Regions from separate parts of the Homo sapiens genome. Here all the other regions are linked to region 2. Evidence: promoter capture Hi-C in 16 types of primary human blood cells and fetal thymus (Javierre and others, 2016). All regions are on one chromosome and are shown on one strand. Each heading gives the region's core, a stretch centred on a gene start or on the middle of the fragment in contact. The rest is flanking DNA. Distances are from core to core; before and after follow the strand shown. Region 1 has its middle 7.1 kb from the start of OR6T1. Region 2 holds the start of OR8B12 (olfactory receptor family 8 subfamily B member 12). Region 3 overlaps OR10G8 (olfactory receptor family 10 subfamily G member 8).

The links. The method cuts DNA at HindIII sites, captures the fragments that hold promoters and counts their contacts. A CHiCAGO score of 5 or more calls a contact.
Region 1: a fragment that was not itself captured here is called in contact with the fragment with the promoter of OR8B12 in region 2 in 1 of 17 cell types (erythroblasts); the score reaches 6.0 in erythroblasts.
Region 3: a fragment that was not itself captured here is called in contact with the fragment with the promoter of OR8B12 in region 2 in 1 of 17 cell types (total B cells); the score reaches 6.5 in total B cells.

Annotation. Positions count from the first base shown.
Region 1 is chr11:123,949,195-123,952,628 of GRCh38, forward strand. No RefSeq gene overlaps it. Among named protein-coding and RNA genes, the nearest start is that of OR6T1, 7.1 kb to the left of the region's middle. The HindIII fragment of the contact is 584 bases long and covers 1,563-2,146 here.
Region 2 is chr11:124,542,384-124,545,768 of GRCh38, forward strand. It overlaps OR8B12 (olfactory receptor family 8 subfamily B member 12), which reads right to left and starts at 1,271. Exons shown (of 1, transcript NM_001005195.1): 1 at 339-1,271. The coding sequence starts at 1,271. The coding sequence ends at 339. The HindIII fragment of the contact is 5,500 bases long and covers 1-2,238 here.
Region 3 is chr11:124,027,847-124,031,036 of GRCh38, forward strand. OR10G8 (olfactory receptor family 10 subfamily G member 8) reads left to right here. Exons shown (of 2, transcript NM_001004464.2): 2 at 1,750-2,788. The coding sequence starts at 1,777. The coding sequence ends at 2,712. Among named protein-coding and RNA genes, the nearest start is that of OR10G8, 2.6 kb to the left of the region's middle. The HindIII fragment of the contact is 280 bases long and covers 1,341-1,620 here.

The DNA.
Region 1 (3,434 bases), core at 605-3,104, 590 kb before region 2:
AAACTTTCCAAAAGCTGGAAGCTTCTTAACTCAGTCCCTAGTGAAAAAGAAAGTTGTTAGGGTCATTTTCTGGATACTCAAAATATGCAAATCAGAGCTTCTCATAATGCAGTGCTGTACTTTATGGGCTCAAGTGTTGGTTTATCTGTGCAGAACTCAATAGCTGAGGATATAAATGAAGAGCTGTCATTCCTATCTTCCATCAGTAAATAGAAATTGTATAGCTGTGTACAATAAAATGTATCATAGTTTTAGTACTCTAAATCTTTATGCCTTAAATTACTTATAAACAAAACTCCTTGATTCCAATGAGTCCAGTTTTAAGTCAAGAATAAAAATAAATTTTGGATATATGAAGTTGCCTGACATAGGAGGTGATATAAGTTATCTCCTTTACCTGTTCCAATACTGCATTTCTTAGGCTTCTTCCCCTGGCCAGTTTGAGGAATGTGCACTCAAAAGTTCTATCAGGATCCTGTTTATGTTCAATGGAGCACACAGAAGGCTTCTTGAATCTGCAGTTCTTTATGCTTCAAGTAATACCAAGCAAAACTCCTTCTCAGTGTTGAAAGAGAAGTTACTATAAATTTGCATGATTATTTCTTTGTACCTCCAATCAATTAAAATTTACTTTAACTTGCTTTGAATGGAAATCTCAAAAGGGAATAACTTTGACCAAAGTTCTCTAAAAGTAAACTAATGTAATTAGTCCTTCAAGGCTTTAGGGGGTGAGACGTTTGAGATTTGTCATAGAGTATGAACTGTACTTCTTCAAAAAAAGATAGAGCTACTTCTTGTGTACAGAAGTAGTAGAAAACTTGTTACTGTATTTGAACTTTAAGAAATTCTCTTAAGCTAGGTAGTGACTCAGTGAGGCCTTGGGTATCTTGACGATGTAATGAAATTATAACAAATATATCCATATATATTTATCCATATATATATGGATATATATTTATCCGTATATATATCCATATATATTTATCCATATATATATGGATATATATTTATCCGTATATATATCCATATATATATGGATATATTTGAATATATATATATGATCAGTGTTAATTTGAAAATCCAATCTTTTTTTTTTTCAATGAGCATTGAACATTGAGTCACATACTAATTATGGTATATAATACTTGGCATGAACTTGGGTAAGTTACTTAAATTCCTAGCTTCAGTTTCTTCATCTGTAAAATGGGTTTCATAGGATCTTTAAGAGAAATAATTGTGTATAATTTGCACCCAGGTGATCAACGGAGATGAGAAAAAATATTTGAATCTTGCTCATTATCAAGAAGTTCAAATAAAAATTATCTTCTCATTTATATACATTCAATAAGCTCAAAGTATCTACTTATCAAATTATCTGCGTACTTCACCCCTTTCCCACCAAAATGTTGAACTTGTAGTTCATCAAAACCATACTGTAAACTGTTATGAGTTTACCTTTCTAGACGTGGTTATATTGAAATATTTTGCATGCACTGAAGTGTAAAATGAATGAAAAATGTTGGATTAAAAGAGATTCAATAAAAATCTAAAGAATATTTAAAAGCTTTATTAATGATTGTCTAACCTTGATTGGAATTTTAAAATGTGAAGTTATGTCAAAATGTGTAGTAGGGATTTTTATTTGCACTAAATTATGTTTTTTTCTCCTTCCCTAGAAGCCATTTTATGCTACTCTTAGGACATCATATGCTAAAGATATTATGGCTTAAAATAGATAATGGACAATGTTACACTGATGAGAATTATCTGTGTAAAGAAAGTTTTCAGTCATTCTAGGATTTCCAAACCTTGTCTTCTTAAATATGATAGAATGGTAAGTTCAATAAAAACTATCCATGTTCTGTGGGGAAAGGGGGTCAGTGAAGAGCCAGCCTTGCTGTCCTTTTCAGGAATTAGATAAAGTGTGCCTTAAGAGTGTCAAATACAGGTCTGGGCACTATGGGCACACTATTTCCACCTTTATTCTACCTTTCCTGCTGGGTCAACTTGCTACAGAACTGGGAGTCAATCCTGGAGTTCTAGTCTAAAACTCACTTCCTAAGCACACCTGGTGATTTTGTAAGCACTTAATTCTCTATTCTTTCTTGCTTAAAATAGCTAAAATCATTTCCGTTTCCTTCACTGAAGCTTAAATAATATAAATGCCAATGAGGAGGGACTTCTGTGAACTATGACAATAATCATCTTATCCAGAGGATATTTTGGTGTCCTACTTGTTCTGAAAGCTTCCCCTATAGAACAGCCAAGAAACAAGAAATGAGTTCAAAATAGAGTGCTCATTAACACATCTAATGATATCTACATTCATCTTGAGAAATAATGCCCCTATGTGACAATACTTCATCTTAGGAAAAAAAAAAAAAGGATATTAATCTGAGAGGGGTTTGGTATCATTGTTATTTTTTAAAAAGTGGATTTTTAAAAATTTTCTTTAAACATTTTTTACATGCCTACTTAATATGGTTAATCCATATGAATGGGTTAGGAAAAACTGAAATGTCTACTGATTAACTGAGTTACCTCAAAAACTAAACTGCAGCATTAAATTATTCTAAGATGTTACCCAAATCGAGAATATGTGTTGAATTACATAAAGTATGTAGCATTCCAGATCCTTTTCTTGAATCTCTTCTCCTAAACAAGATAACTTATTGGCTGTTTAAATGCTCTTGTGGAATGTTTCTTATCTTTTCCTTTTTGCCATCAAAATATACCTTTATTTGTTACATGAGTAACATAAACATTAAAAAATAGTGTATTATTGATTTTGCCACAACACTCCCAGAACTATTAGCAACTTAAAAAAAGTTAGAAGTGACGAATAAGAGCATTACATATTGATATAGGGGTCAATTCAATAAGAAGAGCTAACTATCCTAAATATATATGCACCCAATACAGGAGCACCTATATTCAAAAAACATGTTTTTAGAGACCTAAAAAGAGACTTAGACTCTCACACAATAAAAGTGGGAGACTTTAACGCCATACTGTCAATATTAGACAGATCATTGAGACAGAAAATTAACAAAGACCTTCAGACCTTGAACTCAACTCTGGATCAAGTGGACCTGATATATATCTACAGATCTTTCCACCCCAAAACAACATAATACACATTCTTCTTGGCACCACGTGGCACTTACTCTAAAACTGATTACACAATTGGAAGAAAATCACTCCTCAGCAAATGCAAAAAAAAAAAAAAACCCTGAAATCATAACGAACTGTCTCTCAGACCACAGCACAATCAAATTAGAACTCAAGAGTAAGAATCTCACTCAAAACCACACAACTTCATGGAAACTGAACAACCTGCTCCTCAATGATTCCTGGGTAAATAATGAAGTTAAGGCAGAAATTAAGAAGCTCTTTGAAACCAATGAAAACAAAGAGACAACGTGCCAGAATCT
Region 2 (3,385 bases), core at 21-2,520:
GTTGTGGCACCAAGTAGTTGTGTGTCCTTGAGCAACATATGTATTTCTGAGTCTCCAACACATGTTAATTGAAGAGACTAGATTAAATAATGTGTAAGGCCAATTCACGATTAAATGGTCTATGATTATAGAAAAATTTGCATAAAATGAAGAAATCCTGGAATAACTAGGTGAAGCAGAGACAGGGAGAATATGTCTGCACTTAACACTCATCCAAATGTAAAGATTTAAAATTCTTTTTCTGTACAAGACAGGAAAAAAATGGAACTTGAATCTCACTGAAAACACACACTAATAAGCAAAGCATTGTATCTCCTTCCTCCAATACTAATCCTTTCTTAAGAAAAGATTTTTCTGCCCAAAGTTCTCCTCAGGGCAACTTTGACATCCTTGTTCCTCAAGCTATAGATTAATGGGTTTAACACGGGGACTATTATGGTATAGAACAGGGAGGACACTTTCCCTTGCTCGAGGGGCAGGATGGAAAGGGGTTTGAGATACATGAAAGCACCAGAACCAAAGAAAAGAGAAACTACAATTATGTGGGAACTGCAAGTACTAAAGGCTTTGGACCTGCCTTCTGTAGAACTGTTGTGTAGAATGCTGGAGAGGATGAGGGCATAAGAAATAAAGACAGTGACAATGGGCATTCCAACGTCAACAGCCACCACAATAAAGACCACCAGCTCATTCATGTAAGAGCTGTTGCAGGAGAGCTCAAGGAGAGGAAGGATGTCACACATGAAATGATTGACAAGGTTGTCAGCACAGAAGGTCAGGTTCATTATGCTTCCTGTGTGGGCCATGGCCCCAGCAAACCCCATCCCATAGGCACCCAACAAAAGGAGCAAACACACCTGGCAAGACATGGTGACTGTGTACAACAGTGGGTTACAGATGGCCACGTAGCGGTCATACGCCATCGCTGACAGGATGAAGGACTCAGAGACGACAAAGAAGCAGAAGAAGAAGAGCTGAGTCATACACCCTGTGAAGGAAATGATGTTCTTCCTTGAGACAAAACTCATCAGCATTTTGGGAGTGATGGTAGTGGAGAAACAGAAATCTATTAAAGAGAGGTTAAAAAGGAAGAAGTACATGGGAGTGTGCAGGTGAGAGTTCAGCCCAATCAGGGTTATCAAGCCCAGGTTCCCCACCACGGTGACCGTGTAGAAACCCAGAAACAGGAAGAAGAGGGGGATCCGCAGTCCCGGCTGGTGGGTTAAGCCTTCGAGGATAAACTCTGTCACAGAAGAGTTTTTGGCTGCCATTCTTTTTGGTCAGGCAGGAGAGTCGGAGGGGACAAGAGAAGAGGACCACTTAGAAAGAAACATCACCACCACATTCTTAGTCTCTATCTCCCATTCTTAGAAAAGGAATCCAAGGAGAGAGATTTGAACTTTGGTAGGAAGGTTTTTACCACTCACTGTGGGTCTATCTTCACAGTCCGAGTGATTATAACTCCCAAAGTGTAATATGAGACTCAACTGTAACTGCAGAATGAGAGCTGGATCTGCTGAAGAAAGGGGTACCAAAAATAATCCAAATGTCTTTTAGATCCTTAGGTCAGTCCCTTTTCTATATCTTTCCCTCTCCTGTCTCTGCTTCACTTGGTAAAACCTGGACCTCTTCCCTGAAGGGAATCCTGAGATGCAGAAGCCACAGTGGCTCTGCTCAGAGCTTCCACCTCTGGGTCCACACTGTCAGATTAAGTAGGTGAGCTCATGCTTTTCCAAGATCTCTTAGCTCAAGTGGCTGTACATTTAATAATTTTTTAAAGCTGACACTTATTGAGTGGTTACTATAAGAGGTTCTGTTTGAAGAGCCATGTAGCAATATTATTATCTTCATTTTACAGATGAAACAAGTAAGATGACATAACTAGACAAAAGTCCCCAAACCACCTGCAGCCAGAAGGTGAATTTCGGCAGTATGGCTCAAATGGCTTGCACTTGAAATCACCATGTTACATAAGTGACCAGCATCGGGGCAGGCACTCACCTTCCTTCCCTTTAGAGCCATAAATGCTATACTCTACTGCCTCTTTTTCACATTCTGGGGAGGAAGATGACCCTAGTGAAGACAAGATGACAGATCTGAGCTCAAAGCCCTCTCTTCCCAGTACAGGTCAAAGGATCAGAACCTCTAATGTATCTCATAACACTTCCTGCACTGAAGGACATGACTTCCAATTGTTCATTTGCCCAAAGGCCTCTCCAGCTTCCAGGAAGGAGACAAAGCTTTTTCCTGACCAGTGAATAACAAAAGACTAAAGAGTTTTATTCTGGATTACAGACCTCAATGATCTGGCCATTAAGATAGAGACTCCCTCAAGACCACTTGCTTAGCAATTAGTTTCCCTAGAGAAGAAGAAATGTTTGTTTATCTCTTGGAATTGCTTGATTTGGCTTTCTACTAACATGTATCCTGTACTATTAAGAGAAAATCATTGTGAAAAAAATGATTGTCATTACCATTTCTTGAATACCCAATAATTTAGTACCTGACATAGTACCCTTATTCCAGCTGCCAAGATCCAGAGTACACATATACAAACATATCTTTATTTATTTCTCACAATACCTATTTTACAGGTAAGTTGCTCACAGAGACAAGATGTTTCAGAGTCCACAGGTATGCTTAGGTCTGTCTGACTCCAAGCCCCTTATGTAGCTGCTAGACTAAACTACCTCCCAAGGACAGCTACTGAAATCCATAAAGCAGAGCCCTTGCCTTCTTGGATCTGACAGTCTCTTGGAAAATAACAAGTAAATATTCAATGAATTTAAGTTTTAAAAGGAAGCAATTAGAGCCTGGAAAGGTTAACACAAAGGGCTATTGTAATTTAGAATAGGCTATTCAATAATTTATTCATATTCCACTCACCTCAGGAATTAATTGCACTACTCTAGTCCCAGCTCAGACAAGAACATACTTCTCTCGTTCCCCTCCCCTGTCCTCTCATGGAGTGTATGTTTAATGGTAACAAGAATCCCTATCAGGTAACTGCTCTCAATGTCTACCAAGACCAGCCTTTCTCTAAATTAATAACTAGTCAAAATTCCCTCTGGCTGTCCCTGCCTTCCACCCACTTTTCTTTGAGCACTTCTCCCAACTGACTTTCCATCTGTTCAGTGCCCTCAAACTGAGTCCTAGTAGACCAGACTCCCACTGCAGGAACACATCCACATTTGTTCTTCCTCTTTGGTTTGCATTTGTCTTTTTCTGTCTTTTACTCCATACCTCCAAGCTCTGCCTGGATTAAAATCGTCTATCCTATGTCTCTGTCTCTAAGATATTTACTTATTTTCTTTAACATCAAACCAACAAACTCATAAAATTTTAGACCCGAAAAGACTTGAGAGAGTATCTCATCCAGTGTTTC
Region 3 (3,190 bases), core at 231-2,730, 510 kb before region 2:
GTAAGACTCCTGAACTAAGACAATATTTTGTATTAATATTAATATTAAGCAAAGAACCTTATTTTGGCCCTGATTTCCATTATACAGAATCCCAGCTTCTCTTGACATCAAGGTGGCATAGATCCCTCTTCTTACATTGGTCCCGTTTTTCCTGTCTCAGATTCTAGGTCTTAATTAAGAGAGAGACTTGATGGAATTGTCTTCTTTGTGAGATCATTCATTACCTGGATTTATGAGAATGAGGAGTAAAGGAAGATGGTGGAGGCAACACATGATATCTAACAAAGCCAATATTAGAATATATTTAGAAACCTAGGGTAGAAGGAGTATGAAAGACAGCTGGCCTCTACCCAGTGGATTGTGTTTGGGAGAGCACATATGAATGCCATGTTCTCAGAACCACATAGGAAGTGTTCTAGGGTAGCAGAAATGGGGGCAGGGGACAGTTATGCATGAACCTTGATGCTCTCTGGATCATTTGGGAGGTCGTGGGAATCCCATTATGGAGTTGCGCTGAGATTCTTACCTGCTCTGAGAGACCAAGGACAAGCCCTTTGAAAGCAGGCAGTAGTGAGGACATCAGTAACAGTATCAGGCACAAAATAGTCCAAGAAGACCTAGCTCTTAGATTCAGAAGGACTCTCTGAAAACACTGAAAGAATATATGTACTCTCTTTCTTCCTAAGACCAAAACTGGAAATTCTGTAATACTGCTGCAAGGCATAATGTGATAAGACTCACTGTCATTTATTGAGCAGTTACTACCTGCCAGGCACAGTACTTAGTACTTTATATGTATCATCTTATTTAATGCTTATAACTTCTCAGTGAGGTAGGTGATGTTAGTAATGTCAAATAACATATGAGGAAACTAGAAAATGATTTAGCTGAACTGTTCAGTTTTCAAATATTCCCAGCCACTAACAATTAAATTCTTGGTGTTTTTTTTTAAGTTTTCCCATGAGCAAGGAAGCAAAAATGAATGTGGTAGGTAGAATTTGCAGTAGCCTTCAAGATTCCTGCTGTCTAGTATATGCTTTCCATTTAATAACCTTCCTTTGAGTATGCCTGGGACCTGTTAATATGATGGAATATCACCCCCGTGACTGCATTACATAACATTATGTAATACTTTGCCATAGCAAACTGGAGAGAGTCTGTCTCGTTGGTTTTGAAGAAGTAACCTGTGGTGTTTTAAGAAGGCCAAGTAGCTAGGACTTTCTTGGACCTAGGGTGACCTCAGTAAGTTGAGAGTTACGTGTCCTGCCAACAAACAGCAAGGAAACTGGAACCTGAGTCCTAAAACTGCAAGGAACCGAATCGTGCCAACAACCACAAGAAGCTTGGAGAATGATCCCCAACCTCAGATGAGATTGCAGGCCTTGGTGATATGTTGATTAAAACCTGATGAGAGCTAAACAGAGGGCCCAGCTGACCTGACCCACAGAGAGGGCGAGACAATAAATTTGCATGTTTTAAGCCAGTTAAGTTTGTGGTAATTTATACACCTATTAAAATCTAAGACAATGCGTTTCTCCTAATTTCTTCCGCATATGTCTCTGTGTGTGTGTATGTGAGACAGAGAAAGACTAGGAAATCACTTCATTAGTTTATGAAGGAAGCTTTGTTAACAAGCAAAGTCCACAATAACTCCAGAATTATCTACCTGCTTGATGCAGTTTCCACACAGAGAATGGATTCTCATTTCTCAATTAAGTGCTAAATGCTGGGTGCTCTTTATATTCCCAGAGGGAGAGAGACCAAGGGTGAGAAGAAATGTCCAACGCCAGCCTACTGACAGCGTTCATCCTCATGGGCCTTCCCCATGCCCCAGCGCTGGACGCCCCCCTCTTTGGAGTCTTCCTGGTGGTTTACGTGCTCACTGTGCTGGGGAACCTCCTCATCCTGCTGGTGATCAGGGTGGATTCTCACCTCCACACCACCATGTACTACTTCCTCACCAACCTGTCGTTCATTGACATGTGGTTCTCCACTGTCACGGTGCCCAAATTGCTGATGACTTTGGTGTTCCCAAGTGGCAGGGCTATCTCCTTCCACAGCTGCATGGCTCAGCTCTATTTCTTTCACTTCCTAGGGGGCACCGAGTGTTTCCTCTACAGGGTCATGTCCTGTGATCGCTACCTGGCCATCAGTTACCCGCTCAGGTACACCAGCATGATGACTGGGCGCTCGTGTACTCTTCTGGCCACCAGCACTTGGCTCAGTGGCTCTCTGCACTCTGCTGTCCAGGCCATATTGACTTTCCATTTGCCCTACTGTGGACCCAACTGGATCCAGCACTATTTGTGTGATGCACCGCCCATCCTGAAACTGGCCTGTGCAGACACCTCAGCCATAGAGACTGTCATTTTTGTGACTGTTGGAATAGTGGCCTCGGGCTGCTTTGTCCTGATAGTGCTGTCCTATGTGTCCATCGTCTGTTCCATCCTGCGGATCCGCACCTCAGAGGGGAAGCACAGAGCCTTTCAGACCTGTGCCTCCCACTGTATCGTGGTCCTTTGCTTCTTTGGCCCTGGTCTTTTCATTTACCTGAGGCCAGGCTCCAGGAAAGCTGTGGATGGAGTTGTGGCCGTTTTCTACACTGTGCTGACGCCCCTTCTCAACCCTGTTGTGTACACCCTGAGGAACAAGGAGGTGAAGAAAGCTCTGTTGAAGCTGAAAGACAAAGTAGCACATTCTCAGAGCAAATAGACACTAGGGAAGATTACATATCTTAGCTCTTGTGAATAGTGCTGTGAAAAACATACAGGGGCAGGTATCTTTTGGATGTAATGAATTCTTTTCCTTTGGGTAGATACCCAGTAGTGGAACTGCTAGATTAAATGTTAATTCTATTTTTAGTTCTTTGAGAAATCTCCACACTGTTTTCCATAGAGGTTGTACTAGTTTACATTCCCACCAACAGTGTATAAGTGTTCCCTTTTCTCTACAGCCTTGCTAACATCTGTTATTTTTTTATCTTTTTAATAATGGTGATTCTGACTGATTTTGTGGCTTTAATTTGCATTTCTGTGATGATTATTGATGTTGAGCATTTTTTCATGTGCCTGTTAATCACTTATATGTTTTCTTTTGAAAAATGTCTATTCATTTCCTTTACCAACCTTTTAATGAGATTATTTGCTTTTCATTGTTAAGTAATTTGAGTTCTTTGTAAATTCTGGATATG